3 separate regions of the Homo sapiens genome follow, and all the other regions are linked to region 1. The links are contacts of gene promoters, found by promoter capture Hi-C in blood cells and fetal thymus (Javierre and others, 2016). All regions are on one chromosome and are shown on one strand. Each heading gives the region's core, a stretch centred on a gene start or on the middle of the fragment in contact. The rest is flanking DNA. Distances are from core to core; before and after follow the strand shown.

What was found. Contacts are between HindIII fragments. The CHiCAGO score rates a contact against its expected background, and 5 or more counts as called.
Region 2: a contact is called between a fragment that was not itself captured here and the fragment with the promoter of PADI2 in region 1, in 7 of 17 cell types (neutrophils, megakaryocytes, erythroblasts and 4 more). The highest score is 15.7, in neutrophils.
Region 3: a contact is called between the fragment with the promoter of PADI4 here and the fragment with the promoter of PADI2 in region 1, in 7 of 17 cell types (neutrophils, monocytes, megakaryocytes and 4 more). The highest score is 16.2, in neutrophils.

The regions. Positions count from the first base shown.
Region 1 is chr1:17,116,736-17,121,760 of GRCh38, forward strand. PADI2 (peptidyl arginine deiminase 2) reads right to left here and starts at 2,716. Exons shown (of 16, transcript NM_007365.3): 1 at 2,545-2,716. The coding sequence starts at 2,636. RefSeq lists a silencer at 2,526-2,735 and an enhancer at 3,307-3,841. The HindIII fragment of the contact is 8,283 bases long and covers 1-5,025 here.
Region 2 is chr1:17,353,959-17,358,983 of GRCh38, forward strand. PADI4 (peptidyl arginine deiminase 4) reads left to right here. Exons shown (of 16, transcript NM_012387.3): 11 at 575-729; 12 at 2,025-2,169; 13 at 2,399-2,501; 14 at 4,880-4,950. Among named protein-coding and RNA genes, the nearest start is that of PADI6, 16 kb to the right of the region's middle. RefSeq lists an enhancer at 4,600-5,025. The HindIII fragment of the contact is 6,300 bases long and covers 1-5,025 here.
Region 3 is chr1:17,306,050-17,311,074 of GRCh38, forward strand. PADI4 (peptidyl arginine deiminase 4) reads left to right here and starts at 2,148. Exons shown (of 16, transcript NM_012387.3): 1 at 2,148-2,265. The coding sequence starts at 2,174. The HindIII fragment of the contact is 10,543 bases long and covers 1-2,555 here.

The sequences.
Region 1 (5,025 bases), core at 1,466-3,965:
TCTGTAAAATGGGATGATCAATGAACCCTCCAGGGTCTATGGTGAGGAAGAAAGGAGGTGGTGGGTTCAGTTCCTAAGTGCCCACTAATACCTCCTCCTGTTATCAATACTGGCAGTTGCTCTCATTACTACAGGTAACTCGAGTCACAATAGCAGTAACAACTCAAGCTCCTTAGTCCTGGAAGAGGCTTCCTTCCACTGGACCAGTGAGTCTCAGCTGGCTGTGATTTTGCCCCCTGCCAGGGGACTGCTGGCACTGTCTGGCAACATTTTTGGTTGTCACAATTTGGGGGTTGCTACTGGCATCTAGGGGACAGAGGTCAGGGATGCCACTAAACATCCCGCTACAACAAAGAAATATCGAGCCCAAAATGCAATAGTGCGAGATTGAGAAACTCTGCACTAGACCTGTTCTGTCCCGGTGTCACTGGCTCACGGTGGCCAGTGAGCACCTGAGATGCACTCAATCTACGCTGAGATGTGCTGAAGTGTAAAATGTGCACTGGATTACAAAGACTTAGCATGAAAAAAGGAAGGTAAACCATTTCCTTAATAATTTTTATATTGATTGCATGTTGAAATGATAATATTCTAAAATATTGGGTTAAACAAAATATATTATTAAAATTATGCCTGTTGTTTTAACTTTAAAAAAGTGTGGACTACTAGAAGATTTAAAATGCAATTGTGGTTTTGTTGTGGTTCAAACTGGACTTTTCTGGACAGTACTGGTCTAGAGCGCACTGCCCCTCTCTGTGGTGGTGGAGAACCTTAAGTGCCGGTGGGGGTTAGGGTCTTTGTGGTCGTTGAGACAGGACAAGGGGAATCGTCACACTGCTGCCCCCTGCTAGAGGGAGGCTGAGTCCATATCTGCCCCACTCTGTGCCCCTACCCCAGCTGGGCCTCTCTTTGCCAGGATAGAGCGATAGCAGGGCGCCTGAGCAGGAACCCTCCTTTGCTCCCCACCCCCGACTGGGAGGATCATGCCAGCTTTTCAGGCGGCACCAACCATGCCCCAGCAAATAAACAGGTGGGTATGGTGACAGCTGAGGCTTAGAGACCTGAGCACTCTGGCTCCGCGCCCACTCCCTAGCGGTGCCCAGTTCAGGGCTGGGGGTGGGGAAGGCAGGGGAGCTCTTGCACCCCACCAGAGCCTGGACCACCCTCCACTGCTGTGTTCTTGTTCTCAGAGACCACCCAGTCCACCTCTGAGGTTTACATGGGGGACAACTGAAGCCCAGGCCCAGGGGAAGGCAGAGGTTGAGGCCAGGGACAGAGGCATGGAGTGGGTCCCTAGTCCTGGGGCTTGTTGGTATCAGCGTGGCCAGTGCCTCTGCAGCGGTGGCAGGAGACTGGTTGGGCAGGTGGGAGGGCTGCCAGGGCTGTGTGGGGAGACACATGATGGGTTGGTGGGGGCCTGGGAGAGGCAGGGTGCTCCAGGTGTCAGGATGATTTGAGAGCCATAAACCACGATGGTGCCTCCGTGTGAGTTCAGCTTGAGGCAGAGAGGATAGGGGACTCATCCGGTGTCAGCACAGGGTCCCACCTCAGAGTCCTGCATGCTCCCTGCCCCCAGCACTGACCCCTCCAACCCTAGCAATGGGGAGGTTTTAAATGCTTGGAATAGAGGGGGCAGATCAAACCCCAGCATAACCCCACCCTTTCATTCACACCAGCCACACCTTTCCAAGGCCCCGTCCCATTACTCAGGGAGACAGATCATTGGACTTGGCTGCTTTCTGGGATTGCGGGGGGAGTGGTAGGGCCCTACCCTACCTTCAGCTGTCTCGGACATCCCGCACTCTACCAAGTTCTTGGACAGAGAGAAGGGGAGGGAGCAGAACTCTGAATCAGGATCCTTTTCCAACAAAGTACCCCGCTATACACCCCAAGTCCCCGTCGTCAGCTGGGTAGAATATTGTCCCTCTGTGGTCTCAGAATGAAGTCAGGGGAAGGTATCTGGGGACACGGAGCTCAGGGCCAGTGCCTGGGGACAAGCAACCACCAGCAGCCCCCACAGGGCGAAATCGGAGCCTGAGTAACCTCCAGGGCCGGATTCAGCCTCAGGGCAGCTCCCTTCGGGTCCTGCCCCAGTCCCCGGCAAGTCTCCGCGGAAGCTCCGCTGAACTGGGAGTGGGAAGCAGGAGAGGGGCTGGGTTGAGGTGGGTCCGAGGGGAAGTGAGGTGCGGAGGGGAAGTGAAAGGGGAGAGGACGGCAGGGAAGCTGAAGGGGTGTGAGGTCCCCCGGGAGGAGAACTGGAGAGGGCCAGACGGAGGGTTACGGGTGAAAGGGAGGGTCTGTGAGGGAGCTGGGGCTGAGGCTGTGTTAGGGGGTCTGGGAGAGTCTCAGGGTTTCTGGAAGGTGGACACAAGGTTCGGGGGTTGTCAGGTTTCTGGATGAGATTCTTAGGATTTCTGGGCTCGGGGGCTCGGGATGAGGGACAACTCGGGCTGGACAAAGGCTGTCCACGTCCCCGAGTCTGAGCGCGTCTCAGGATTTCTGGGCTCGAGATCTCGGCCCGGGCATCACGGTGGGCCGGCTCACCTGTAGACATCGGTCCAGAGGTAGGTGCCCAGCACGTACACCGCCTCCACGCGGCTCCCGTACTGCAGCCGCACGGTCCGCTCGCGCAGCATCCTCCCCGCCGCAGTGCCCGCGCTCGCTGGTCCGGGGCGGCCGGGAGCACCTGCAGCAGGTGCGCCTTCTCCAGCAGCCTGCGCCCCACGGCCCCGCGCGCAGCCTTATCCAGCGGCCGGTGGGCGGGGCGGCCCGCCCCAGTCCTCTCGCAGTGGGCTGCGGGCCTGTCCGTCAAGCGTGGTCCCGCCCCTAACTCGTCCCGCCCCGCTGAGGTCGTGGCGAAGTCATCAGGGACCAGTTTTGTGCTTTCCATGGTTGGATTGTCATTCTTTCATTCGACAAACCTTCGGTGGGCGCCCAGGTGTTGGAGGGCCCTAGCTCCCCTCCGGACGCCCCAGCCCAGTGGGGCTGAAAATGCAAATGTGGGAACACAAAGAGGGTGCCCTAACCCAGCCTGGGGGCCAGGAAGCCTTCCCAGAGAAGACGATCCTGGAACCTTCTTAAAGGAGGCGTTTGCAAATTAAAGGCGAGGAGAGGGAGCTGCCTGTGCAAAGCCGGGTGCAGCCCGGTACCCCCATCCCCCAACAGTCAGATGAACCTCACCATAGAGAAAACGGGAAGCGGTGGGGATGGGGAACCCGGCAGCTGAGGGAGACCAGGACGCCAAGCCAAGGCATTGGAGGGTGGGAGATGGGAGCCTGGAGTGGTTGTCTCCGCGAGCCGTGGTCGGGTGTGCTCGTGAAATGGGTCATTCTGGGCTGGGGAGGGGCAAGGAAGCCCCTGGCTGTGGCCAGAGCTGGAGAGGTGGGGACTGACCCGGCCACTGCTTAGGGACTGGGATTTTGGTGGCACCTGGTGACTGATAGGATGTGTGGGTGGAGGGAGAGGAGAGGGGTAAGGATTAGGGCCCCGGTTCTGGCCTGGGCCACCAAGGGAAGGGGGGTGCCACCCAGAGGTCATCGTGTGTCTCACAGAGGCTGAGATGTAGGATGACAATCAGTGTGGGCCTCGGCCAGCCCCTCCCATGTCCCAGCCCTTCCCCTGGGACCCAGTGGGAGTGCTGTTCAGACACATACATCAGCCCTGTGTGAGGAAGTGGTCTTTGGTAGGTGAGGACAGAAACTGAGGGGGGGTGGGCAGAGGCCGTGGGAGGGAAGGAGTGGGGCGGAGGGGATGTGTGTTTGGGAAGGAGTTAGAGCTGATGGAAGATGGAGCTCCAGGAACGGGTGCCCCCAGACAAGAGGGGTGAGGCCCACAAGTGCCCAGTGCTGATATACCCAGCCCTTGGACTCCAACCTTCTCCCTGAGGCGGCCCAAATTAGGAGGTGGTGAAGAGCCCAGCTGCTTCTGAGTGGCAGGGATTTGGGAGGAATGTGAGTGGGGAAGAGGGAAGGCCCGAGTTTTAGCCAGGAGGTCATTTGTCCCCCAAAGGCACAGCTCACAGACCCAGGGAGAGGCCAGTAACTGTTTTTTTTTTTTTTTTTTGAGACAGAGTTTTCCTCTTGTTACCCAGGCTGGAGTACAATGGCGCCATCTCAGCTCATTGCAACCTCCGCCTCCCAGGTTTAATTGATTCTCCTGCCTCAGCCTCCCAAGTAGCTGGGATTACAGGCAGGCACCACCACACCCAGCTAATTTTGTATTTTTAGTAGAGACGGGGTTTCTCCATGTTGGCCAGGCTGGTTTTGAACTCCTGATCTCAGGTGATCTACCTGCCTCGGCCTCCCAAAGTGCTAGGATTACAGGCGTGAGCCACAGCGCCCGGCCGAGGCCAGTAACTTCTGATGAACTCCAGGCACCCGGCTGAGCACATCCTCCAATCAGGAGGAATCTCTCGGGTGGCCACCTGCCAAACTGGGACAAAACTTGTGTAGCTTGGAGAGACTTCGAGGCGCCCCCAGAGGTGAGCTCGTGTCTGGGCACCCCTCTGCCACGAGTGACTTTGGAGCCCTTACTGTGTGACAGATAACGGGCACCCACCAGGGTTCTCACCTTCCTGGGGCTCTAACTTTCATTTGACTCATGGGGAGACTGGGGCCAGAGTGGGGGAGGACACTGTACCCCCCACTGACGGAGACCCCGGGCAGCTCATAACAGGACACTGGGCAAGATAGTGATAACATCAGACCGCAATACCCAGGGGAGCTGGAGTAAGAGCGGGCACTTACTGCTTTCTTTCTGTGGGTCAGGCACTGTTCCAAGCGGCTCTTTTCATGTATTAGAGTTAGATCACTGAACCCTCCCAGTAACTCCGCCACTTTACAGATGAAGAAAGTGAGCTGTGAGGAGGTGGGGGAATTGACTCTGGGTTGCAGAGCTCCTAAGAGTGGCAGAGGGAGGAGCTTGCAGGGCCACTGGGGTGGAGGCAGGGGGCAAGGCCGAGTGAGGGCAGGGGCAGAATGCTGTCCATGCTTTGTAGATAAGGAAGTCGCAGTTCTAGGCCCAGCT
Region 2 (5,025 bases), core at 1,032-3,531, 240 kb after region 1:
GCTGGGCGTGGGGGCTCATGCCTGTAATCCCAGCACTTTGGGAGGTCGAGGCAGATGGATCACTTGAGGTCAGGAATCCGAGACTAGACTGGCCAACATGGTGAAACCCCATCTCTACTAAAAAAAAAAAAAAATACAAAAATTAGCTGGGCGTGGTGGGGCGTGCCTGTAGTCCCAGCTACTCAGGAGGCTGAGGAGTATTCCTTGAACCAGGGGCGGAGGTTGCAGTGGCTGAGATCATGCCACGGCCCTCCAACCTGGGCAACAGAGTGGGACTCTGTCTTAAGGGGAAAAAAAATGATGTTTTACAGATTTGTTTTATGCCCAAGTTAAGGTTTACCAAGCAGCTGGCACGCTTTAGGGACCCAACAAATGCTAGTCCCTTTTCTTGTCCATTGAATGAACTCAACATTCCTTTAACCTTCCACATGTGATAACAGCACCTGCTATGTGCCAGCTGTAGACGGTACTGAGTTACTTCCTGTGCCCAAGTTCATCTCTAAACTTGGACCCCCCGACCCTTCACCAGGGACCTCATTCCTCTAACTCTTGGCACTCCCTTCTCCTATCTCAGGGTCCAGATTTTGGCTATGTAACTCGAGGGCCCCAAACAGGGGGTATCAGTGGACTGGACTCCTTTGGGAACCTGGAAGTGAGCCCCCCAGTCACAGTCAGGGGCAAGGAATACCCGCTGGGCAGGATTCTCTTCGGGGACAGCTGTTATCCCAGGTAAGGAGGGGAGTAACAGGAAGGGGTGGCCAGGACCCAGGTATGCCGTAGAAAAGCAGAGGCCAGAGTGGAAGCCTTGCCTTCCTGCTTCCGATTCTAGACAGCCCAACAGACTTGAGGGAGTGTGAGAGGAATCCAAGCGCAGGGTGAGGAATGCGGGCTTTGGAGCCCATAGACCCAAGTTCAATTCCAGCCCTGCCACTTACCCTCTTTCAGTCAGTGAATATTTACTGAGCATCCAAAATGTTCTGGGAGCTGGGAATGCAGCCGTGGACAAGAAAGACAAGTCCTTACCACTACTCTAGTAGGGAAACAGATGATAGAAAAGTAGACAAGATAACTTCAAATGACAAAAACAAAAGAGAGGGGCACGGGAGGAATAGGAACTGTTAGGGTGACCAGGGAGGTCCTCTCTGGGGAAGGGGCTTTTGAACTGAGGCCTAATGACAGAAGGGACAGGGCCACCTGGAGATCTGGGACAGAGAGTTCCTGGCAAATGAAAGTGCATGTGCAAAGGCCCTGAGGCAGGAATGAGCTCCTGCGTGCAAGGCCAGGATGGCTAGAACCTATTGAACAAGAAGAGGCTGGGCACAGTGGCTCACACCTGTAATCCCAGCACTTTGGGAGGCCAAGGCAGGTGGATTACCTGAGGTCAGGAGTTCGAGACCAGCCTGACTAACATGGCGAAACCCCGTCTCTACTAATGCAAAAATTAGCTGGGCCTGGTGATGCATGCCTGTAATCCCAGCTACTCGGGAGGCCGAGGCAAGAGAATCGCTTGATCCCGGGAGGCGGAGGTTGTAGTGAGCCGAGATTGTGCCAGCCTGGGCAACAGAGCAAGACTCTGTCTCAAAAAAAAAAAAAAAAGTGAGGAAGAACAAGGCACTGCAACACTAATTTTTTTTTTTAGGAGAAAACTGAGGCTCAAACAGGTGAAGGAATGTCCCCAAGGCCACATGGCTAACAAGAGATCACCGACTTAGGTCAGACTGGCTCTAAGCCCCATGTGTACCCAGAATACCAGCATCTCATCTAACTCAAGAGGCAGTGCTTTCTGAGGCTAAGCTCTGTTCTACTTACCTTAGTGACTCTGTGCCTCAGTTTCCCCCAATAAAACTAGAATGACAATTCCTTGATTTCTCAAATGTTAGGGGATAAAATAAAGGCATTCTAGACTCCTGCATCCCTTTCTCAGCTGAAGGAGAACCCTGACCTTTTTGCCAAGCCCCTTGTCCTTCAGGGACTTCCCTGTAGCCCTTGCTGCCGATAACACCCCTTTAACCCTGCCATGACAGCAATGACAGCCGGCAGATGCACCAGGCCCTGCAGGACTTCCTCAGTGCCCAGCAGGTGCAGGCCCCTGTGAAGCTCTATTCTGACTGGCTGTCCGTGGGCCACGTGGACGAGTTCCTGAGCTTTGTGCCAGCACCCGACAGGAAGGTACAGTCTTGGGGGCTGCCTCAGGAAGCCATGCCTCCTTCCTGGGTAGACCCTCTGCCTGGGGTGGGAGCAACTTTACTTGTCTATTTCTCCTTCACCCTTAGGATGGCAGTAGAGGAGGTGGCCAGCTTGGGTCCAAGTCCACACTACTCCCACCCTCAGCAGATCCACCCTCGTTGGGAGCTCCAGGGGCAAAGCTGACTTCTAACCCCAGTGTTTCTGCCTCCAGGGCTTCCGGCTGCTCCTGGCCAGCCCCAGGTCCTGCTACAAACTGTTCCAGGAGCAGCAGAATGAGGGCCACGGGGAGGCCCTGCTGTTCGAAGGGATCAAGAGTAAGTCGGCCCTGCCTTGTTCTCCTGTCTGTGCACCTTCCTGCTTCCCATAGTCCGCTGTTGCCTGGAGGGAATCATCCAGGCAATAGGGTAGCATCTGAGCACCTACTGTGCGCCAGGCACTGTGCCAAGTGCTAGGGAGACTGCATGAACAGGGCAGAACAGCTTGCTGCCCTGTGGGCTCACAGGCCAGGGGGAAGTGAGTCAAAAGAACAGCTCCAACACAGGGGCTTTGAGGGGTGTCTGAGTGGATGGAGCTCAGGGAAGGCTTCTTGGAGGAGGCAGAGGCCAAGCAGTAGCATGCAAGTAGGGGTTGGCTGGGCAAACGGGGCAGGGAAATGAGAGGAAGAGAGATACCACAGGCAGAGGGACGGGGGTGGGGCGGCTCAGAGGCAGGAGAAAGCACGATGTGTGTGAGGACCTCGGGGAGGTTCGGTATAGCTGGAGCACAGATGAAATATTACTCTCTCAGCAGAGCTCACAGACATGGGCCAGGCCCCGGGCTGAGATGCCTCTGTGGCTGAGAGCTCCACCTCAGATCTGAGTATGTTGTGTGGCATCAGGAGAGGGCTGACCTGTTTCTTCCTCTCTCGATGGGATCTCTTTGGAGATAAGATAATTTAGCGTTAATGCAAGGCAAAATGTTCCAGTGAACAAGTTTCATGGTTCAACTTTATAATAATTATAAGTAAACCTGTTAAATTTTTCTGGACATTCTTTTCTTTTGAAACGAAGTTTTCCTCTATTGCCCAGGCTGGAGTGCAATGGCGCGATCTCGACTCTCTGCAGCCTCTGCATCCCGGGTTCAAGTGATTCTCCTGCCCCAGCCTTCCGAGTAGCTGGGATTACAGGTGTGCACCACCACACCTGGCTAATGTTTTGTATTTTTAGTAGAGATGGGGTTTTGCCATGCTGGCCAGGCTGGTCTCGAACTCCTGACCTGGTGATCCACCCACCTCGGCCTCCCAAAGTGCTGGGGTTACAGGCATGAGCCACCACGCCTGGCTTAAAACAAGGACATTTCTTATTGACAGCAACTAAATGGTACTTGTAGCATTTTTATCACACAGTAGATTCCATCCATTCACTATACTTTTCTGAGCTGTCTGTCCTGCATGCAAGTAGATATTTTTAATGTTGTCTGTTTTCTGTGCTGTTCCTGTAAGTGTGCTATTAAAATACACTAAACTAGGCTGGGCGCGATGGTTCATGCCTGTAATCCTAGCACTTTGGGAGGACGAGGCGGGTGGATCACGAGTTCAGGAGTTCAAGGCCAGCTAGGCCAAGATGGTGAAACCCCGTCTCTACTAAAAATACAAAAATTAGCCGGGCGTGGTGGCGGGTGCCTGTAATCCCAGCTACTTGGGAGGCTGAGGCAGGAGAATCACTCGAACCCGGGAGGTGGAGGTTGCAGTGAGCCAAGAATGTGCCACTGCACTCTAGCCTGGGTGACAGAGCAAGACTCAGTCTCAAAAAAAAAAAAAAAAACAAGAAAATATTAAACTAGGCCAAGTGTGGTGGCTCACACCTGTAATCCTAGCACTTTGGGAGGCTGAGGCGGGTGGATCACCTGAGGTCAAGAGTTTGAGACCAGCCTGGCCAACGTGATGAAACCCCGACTTTACTAAAAGTACAAAAATTAGCTGGGCGCAGTGGTGCGCACCTGTAATCCCAGCTACTGGGGAGGCTGAGGCAGGAGAATCGCTTGAACTCGGGAGGTGGAGGTTGCAGTGAGTCAAGATCGCACTACTGCACTCCAGCCTGGGCGACAGAGCAAGGCTCTGTCTCAAAACAAAAAAAAAATTACACTATAAAAATATATTTTAGGCCGGGCGCGGTGGCTCACGCCTGTAATCCCAGCACTTTGGGAGGCCGAGGCGGGCGGATCACGAGGTCAGGAGATCGAGACCATCCTGGGTAACACGGTGAAACCCCGTCTCTACTAAAAATACAAAAAATTAGCCGGGCGAGGTGGCGGGCGCCTGTAGTCCCAGCTACTCCGGAGGCTGAGGCAGGAGAATGGCGTGAACTCCAGGGGGCGGAGCCTGCAGTGAGCCGAGATTGCGCCACTGCACTCCAGCCTGGACGACAGCGAGACTCCGTCTCAAAAAAAAAAAAAAATAATAATAAAAATAAAAATATATTTTAAAAAGAATTTAAATGAGGTGAGAACAACATTTTTAATGAGAACTTATACTGCTAAAATATTGTATTAAAGATATTTGACTTGCAGATGCTCACAGCAAACCTGTATGGTAAGAATTATTACTGACTCCATTTTATAGATGGGAACACTGAGTCCCCCCCCGGCACTGGCTGGGAAGAGGGAAATCGACCTCTAAGTTCATTTGCCTTTTTTTTCTTTTTCTCCATGACAGAAAAAAAACAGCAGAAAATAAAGAACATTCTGTCAAACAAGACATTGAGAGAACATAATTCATTTGTGGAGGTAGGAGCCTGGGTGCCTACACCCCAGCAGACCTGACGCCCTGTCCCCGGCTCAGCCACTTTCCCAGTGATTAGA
Region 3 (5,025 bases), core at 898-3,397, 190 kb after region 1:
TACCGATTGCACTGGCTGTTCTCTTGACTTGGAACCTTCTCCCTGTGTTCCTGGTAGCCTTTACCCTGTCCTTTTTCCTTTTTCTACCCCACTAACATACGATAGAATCCACTTACTGCATTTATTGCTTACTGGCTGTCTCTCTCCCAACAAAAACAAACAAACAAAAAGGCTCTATGAAGGCAGGATTTTTGTCCACTTTGTTCACAGCGTATCCACGGTGCCTGGAACAGTGCCTGGCCATCAATAGGCACTCAGTCAGTATTTGTTGAATTAACAAAACTGCTTTGGGGCTCGTCCTCTTTGTGGCTCGTTCACAGCAAATTTAAACCCCAAACTGCTGAAGAAAATAAGAAAGAAAAGAAGGAACAGAAGAAAACAACCTCAAGAGACCTAAGACTTGGGGTAGAGGCCAGCCCTCCCTCTGATTTGCTGTGTGACCGTGGGCAGGTCCCACTCCCTTTCTGTGCTTCAGTCTCCCCTTCTGCAAAACGAGGACTGGATTGGGTGTTCTCTAAGGGCCCTCCCAACTCTAACAATGGACAGCTCCCTCCTGCCACTTCCCAGTAGAAGCTCAAACTAGTTCTAATCATGCGGTCAGCCAGAGAAATTGGGTTTATTAACACTGTGTGCAGGCAGTCATGTAGATGCGTCAGAACGTCGGACCTGGCCACATCATCATCTGCTGGTACAGAAGATAAATTTTGAGCCCAGAGAAGGTGGTCTGAATCCAGATCCCCACTGTAGGGCTTATGAGACCTTGGGGGTCTCACTCAATCTCTCTAAGTCTTTGTGGTCTCATCTACACATGGGCATCCTGATAGGACGCACTCCATAGGGATGTTGAGATGAGGCAGGATTTGAACTAAAGCCTGTTTGATCCCACAGCCTGACTCTGAATTAATGAGGCAAATTCTTTGCTTCAAAGCCAAAGCAAGCAAACAAAAAACAAACGCAAGATATCCAACCCACGAAACGCTCTATGTTCACGCCAGACTCCCATGCATGCACCCTTTGAGTGCTCCTTGTTGGGACCCATCCACCACCCCCCAGTTGCCTCATTAAAGGCAGAGCCTGGCACCAATGGCCCAGGTGCAACCACAGCTCTGAGGCCACATGGGCATCCCCCTGGCAGGCGTGGCCCACACCTGCACTGTCTGGTCTGACACCCAGAGGCCCTGGCAAGAGGCAGGTATCCTGGAGCATGCAGAGAACATCAACTTCCATGCCAGGAAGCTCATCTTCTCTTCCCAGCTCTGCCGCATTCTAGCTCTGGCACCTTGGGCAAGAGCTAGTCACTTTTACTCTCTGAGCCTCAATTTTCCTTCTGTAAAATGGGTTGTAATAATAAGCCCATATACACCTTGTATTGTAGCGAGATGTAGCTGTGATACAGTCTGGAAAGCACGTGTCATATAGACAGGCAGCTAATGAATCTCACACTCTGGAACTGGACACCTTTGGTTCCAATTCTGGCCCTACCACTCTCGAGCTGTGGAAGAACTGCACCTCTGTTTTCTCCTCTGTAAAATGGGTATAATAATGGCACCAACCTCAGAGGGCTGCTGTGAGGGTGAAATAAGGGGATAATGGTATGATCTAGTTCACGGGTTTGTCGTAATGAGCTATTCTATGTGAAGTGCAGGAAAACGTGCCTGGCATAGAGAATGTGAGCTGTCATGTGGGTGGCCCAGGTGGAGAGACTTGTCCCAAGCCTGGTTGGTCTTTGAACGTGTAGCCTGGCCTGTGACTGCTTACCTAAAATCTCCCCGCTTTTCCCACCTTCTCCTCTCTGATATGCCTGTTTGACATAGGTGAGATTGGATAGATCAAGGTGTTCAGGGCCTCTAGGCAGGGATGGGACTGTGGGCATGAGGACCAGGACCCAACCCCTCAGCCCCACTCTCCACCCCAGGCTTTCTGAGCCATCCATCCTTCCCAAGAAACTGACAGAGCCACCCTGCCACTGGTACCAGCATTGACACCCATCTAGAGGTCCGAGGGGCAGCCCCAGGGCAGAGGAGATTTTGAGAGCCCACACCCCTGACCTGAGTGGGGAGGGGTTGAGCCTCTGGGCCACAGACCGCAGGTGCTGACTCATGGCCTCTGCTGGGCGATATAAAGGAACCAGCCCAGGGGCTTCCTACAGCCAGAGGGACGAGCTAGCCCGACGATGGCCCAGGGGACATTGATCCGTGTGACCCCAGAGCAGCCCACCCATGCCGTGTGTGTGCTGGGCACCTTGACTCAGCTTGACATCTGCAGGTAAGAGGGGGGCCTTCTGGGGTTTTGGAGGCAGGTCAGGAGATGCTGGATGACCCAGTTCTACTGACACAGGAGCATGTGTTTGGCCCAGGCTCTAGGCTCCAGCCTCTGCAGCCACTGCCAGGGGAGTAGCTGGAGAGAGAAGACCCCAGCAGCCCTGGGAAGTGCCAGTCTCATGGCTGTGGGTTCTTTGCCATGTACAAGTGCAAATTCCCCAGGAACACACGACAGATAAATTATTATGGGGCAAACCAGGCCATCCATCTCCCTGTCTTCATCGAGGCAACAGAAGCTTACAGAGAGTCTGTGACTTGCTCAAGGTCACACAGCACGTGTGCCCTGGAAGTAAGGTTAGCCCCTGGGCCTCCTGGTTCACAGCACAGTTTGTTACCCCACATCTCTTAGCTAAGCCTCCCTCAGTGGGTGCATAATAGCGTGGGTGGGGATGGCGAAACGGGGCTCTGTGGCGGCAGAGACTGAGGTAGGAAGCCTGGACCTGCTGCTGGCTAGCAAGGAGGCCTTGGGCAACTGAGCCTCAGTTGCCTCATCTGTGAAATGGGGATAATACTCACATCATGGGCTGGTTATAGGAATTCAATGTGAAAAAATGTGCAGATGTTGGCTGAGTACTTAGCACAGTGGTGGGCCCATCCTTGGTAGTTTTTATTTACTCATTTAACAAATGCTGAGTGCCATGCTCTGTGGCAGGGTCTGGGTTAAACAAGAGAGTTGAGGAATGCTCTCGGGGAGTGTGCAGGGTCATTGTTGTTATTGTAGAACAGGAATTAAAAGAAATTTTAAAACGTGTAAGCAAAAACTCAGTTCTATGTTAAAAAAAAAAAAAACAATTTTCCCTGGAAAAAAAAAAAAAAAAGAGCTGGAGTCCCTTAAAAATTAACTGCCTGTTTTTTTGTGGCTAGTGAGCCTTATTGCTCCTCTTTTTCCAGGCATTGTAAAGACCCTGTTTCTCCAGCTGTGCAGCTGCAAGGTCACTAGACAGATAAACTCAAGCTGTAAAAATTTTTTTCCTTAAAAAGTAAAAAATAATATAATGCATGTCTCAATTAAATAACTGTCTTTGTTTCTTGCCTCTATAATATGCTTCCCCCTGCACAGATCTACCCCCGCCCCATGAAATGCTTAAAAGATAACTTAACTCTTTGTTCAGGGCTCAGTCTTTTGAAATGTTAGCCTGACTGAGCCAGTGAATCTAAATAATAAATCCTCCTCAACCCCTCGGTCTCTCTGATTCCTAAATTATCCTGCAACAATTGCTGTTGTCAGGAATAGGAGTGGTTGCCCCTGGCTTCCCCATCCCAGTCTGGGCATCGGTGGCCCTAGAATGGTGCCCACAGGAGTGCCGGGGACATTTCTTTGCTACTGCCTGAGCCCCAGCAGCCAGAGAACAGCAGGAAATGTCGGGATGGTCTCCCAGGGCCACATGGTGGAGGCAGGAGACCAAGAAGTTGGGGAGAAAAGGAAAAAGAAAATCACCTGACATCATCTGAGGCGCCCCCAACTCCTCTGAGAATGGGTGTGAAGGAAATGACAGGAGCTGAAGCTAGCCCAGGGCCTCTCCCAGCATGCCCAGGCTAGCCCTCTACCCAGCGTCCATGAGTAGTAATCAAGATCACAAGTGCTTCCTCTGGCCCTAGAGAGGTGGGTGGACAGCTGGTCAGTGTTGGGCAGAGAGGAAGGCACTGCCCATTTCTCCCAGAAAGGATGGGGACTCCGGAGTTCACAGGGGCCTCTAAATCCTTCTTTTCTCCTCCTTCAGCCACACGTTGAGCCTGTCACTCTATCCCCTGAACATCTCACGTAACAATGGCTAATATTTACATCACACTTCCTACATTCAACTCATTCAATGGCCTTGGGAGGCAGGTAATGTTGTTATTCCCATTTTACAAAAGAGGAAACAGAGGCTCCAAGAAGTTAAGTAACCCACCTCAAGCCACACAGCTAATAAGTAGGGGAGCCAGGACTCAACCCAGGCAGCCTGACTCTAGGACCCTCCATTCTCCCCATGGGTCTCCGTTCCAGACCTTCCTGTCACTTCTTATCTGTTCTTAACATAGCCCCAGACAGCGCCTCCCTCCCATCTCCTGAGCAGCCATCGGCCTCTTCCTGAACCACACAGGTGGGAGGGCCACTCCCTCCTCACCTCCGCCCCTCATATTCATGCCTCCATAACTTTGCTCAAGCCATTCTCTCTGTCCCCAAAGTCAGGAACCCGGGAGGCAGAGGTTGCAGTGAGCCAAGATTGGGCTAGTGCACTCCAGCCTGGGTGACAGAGTAAGACTCTGTCTCAAAAAAAAAGAGGCAAAAACACCTAACCGAGGGTCACATAAATTAAAGGTGGCAAGCTGGGCACGGTGGCTTATGCCTGTAATCCCAGCACTTTGAGAGGCCAAGATGGGCAAATCACTTGTGGTCAGAATTTCGAGACCAGCCTGGCCAACATGGGGAAACCCCGTCTCTACTAAAAATACAAAAAAATTAGACGGGGCGCAATGGCTCACATCTGTAATCCCAGCACTTTGGGAGGCCGAGGCAGGCGGATCACAAGGTCAGGAGATCGAGACCATCCTGGCTAACATGGTGAAACGCCGTCTCTACTAAAAATACAAAAATTAGCCGGGCGTGGTAGCACGCAGCTATAGTCCCAGCTACTTGGGAGGCTGAGGCAGGAGAATCGCTTGAACCCAGGAGGCGGACGCTGCAGTGAACCGAGATTGTGCCACTGAACTCCAGCCTGGG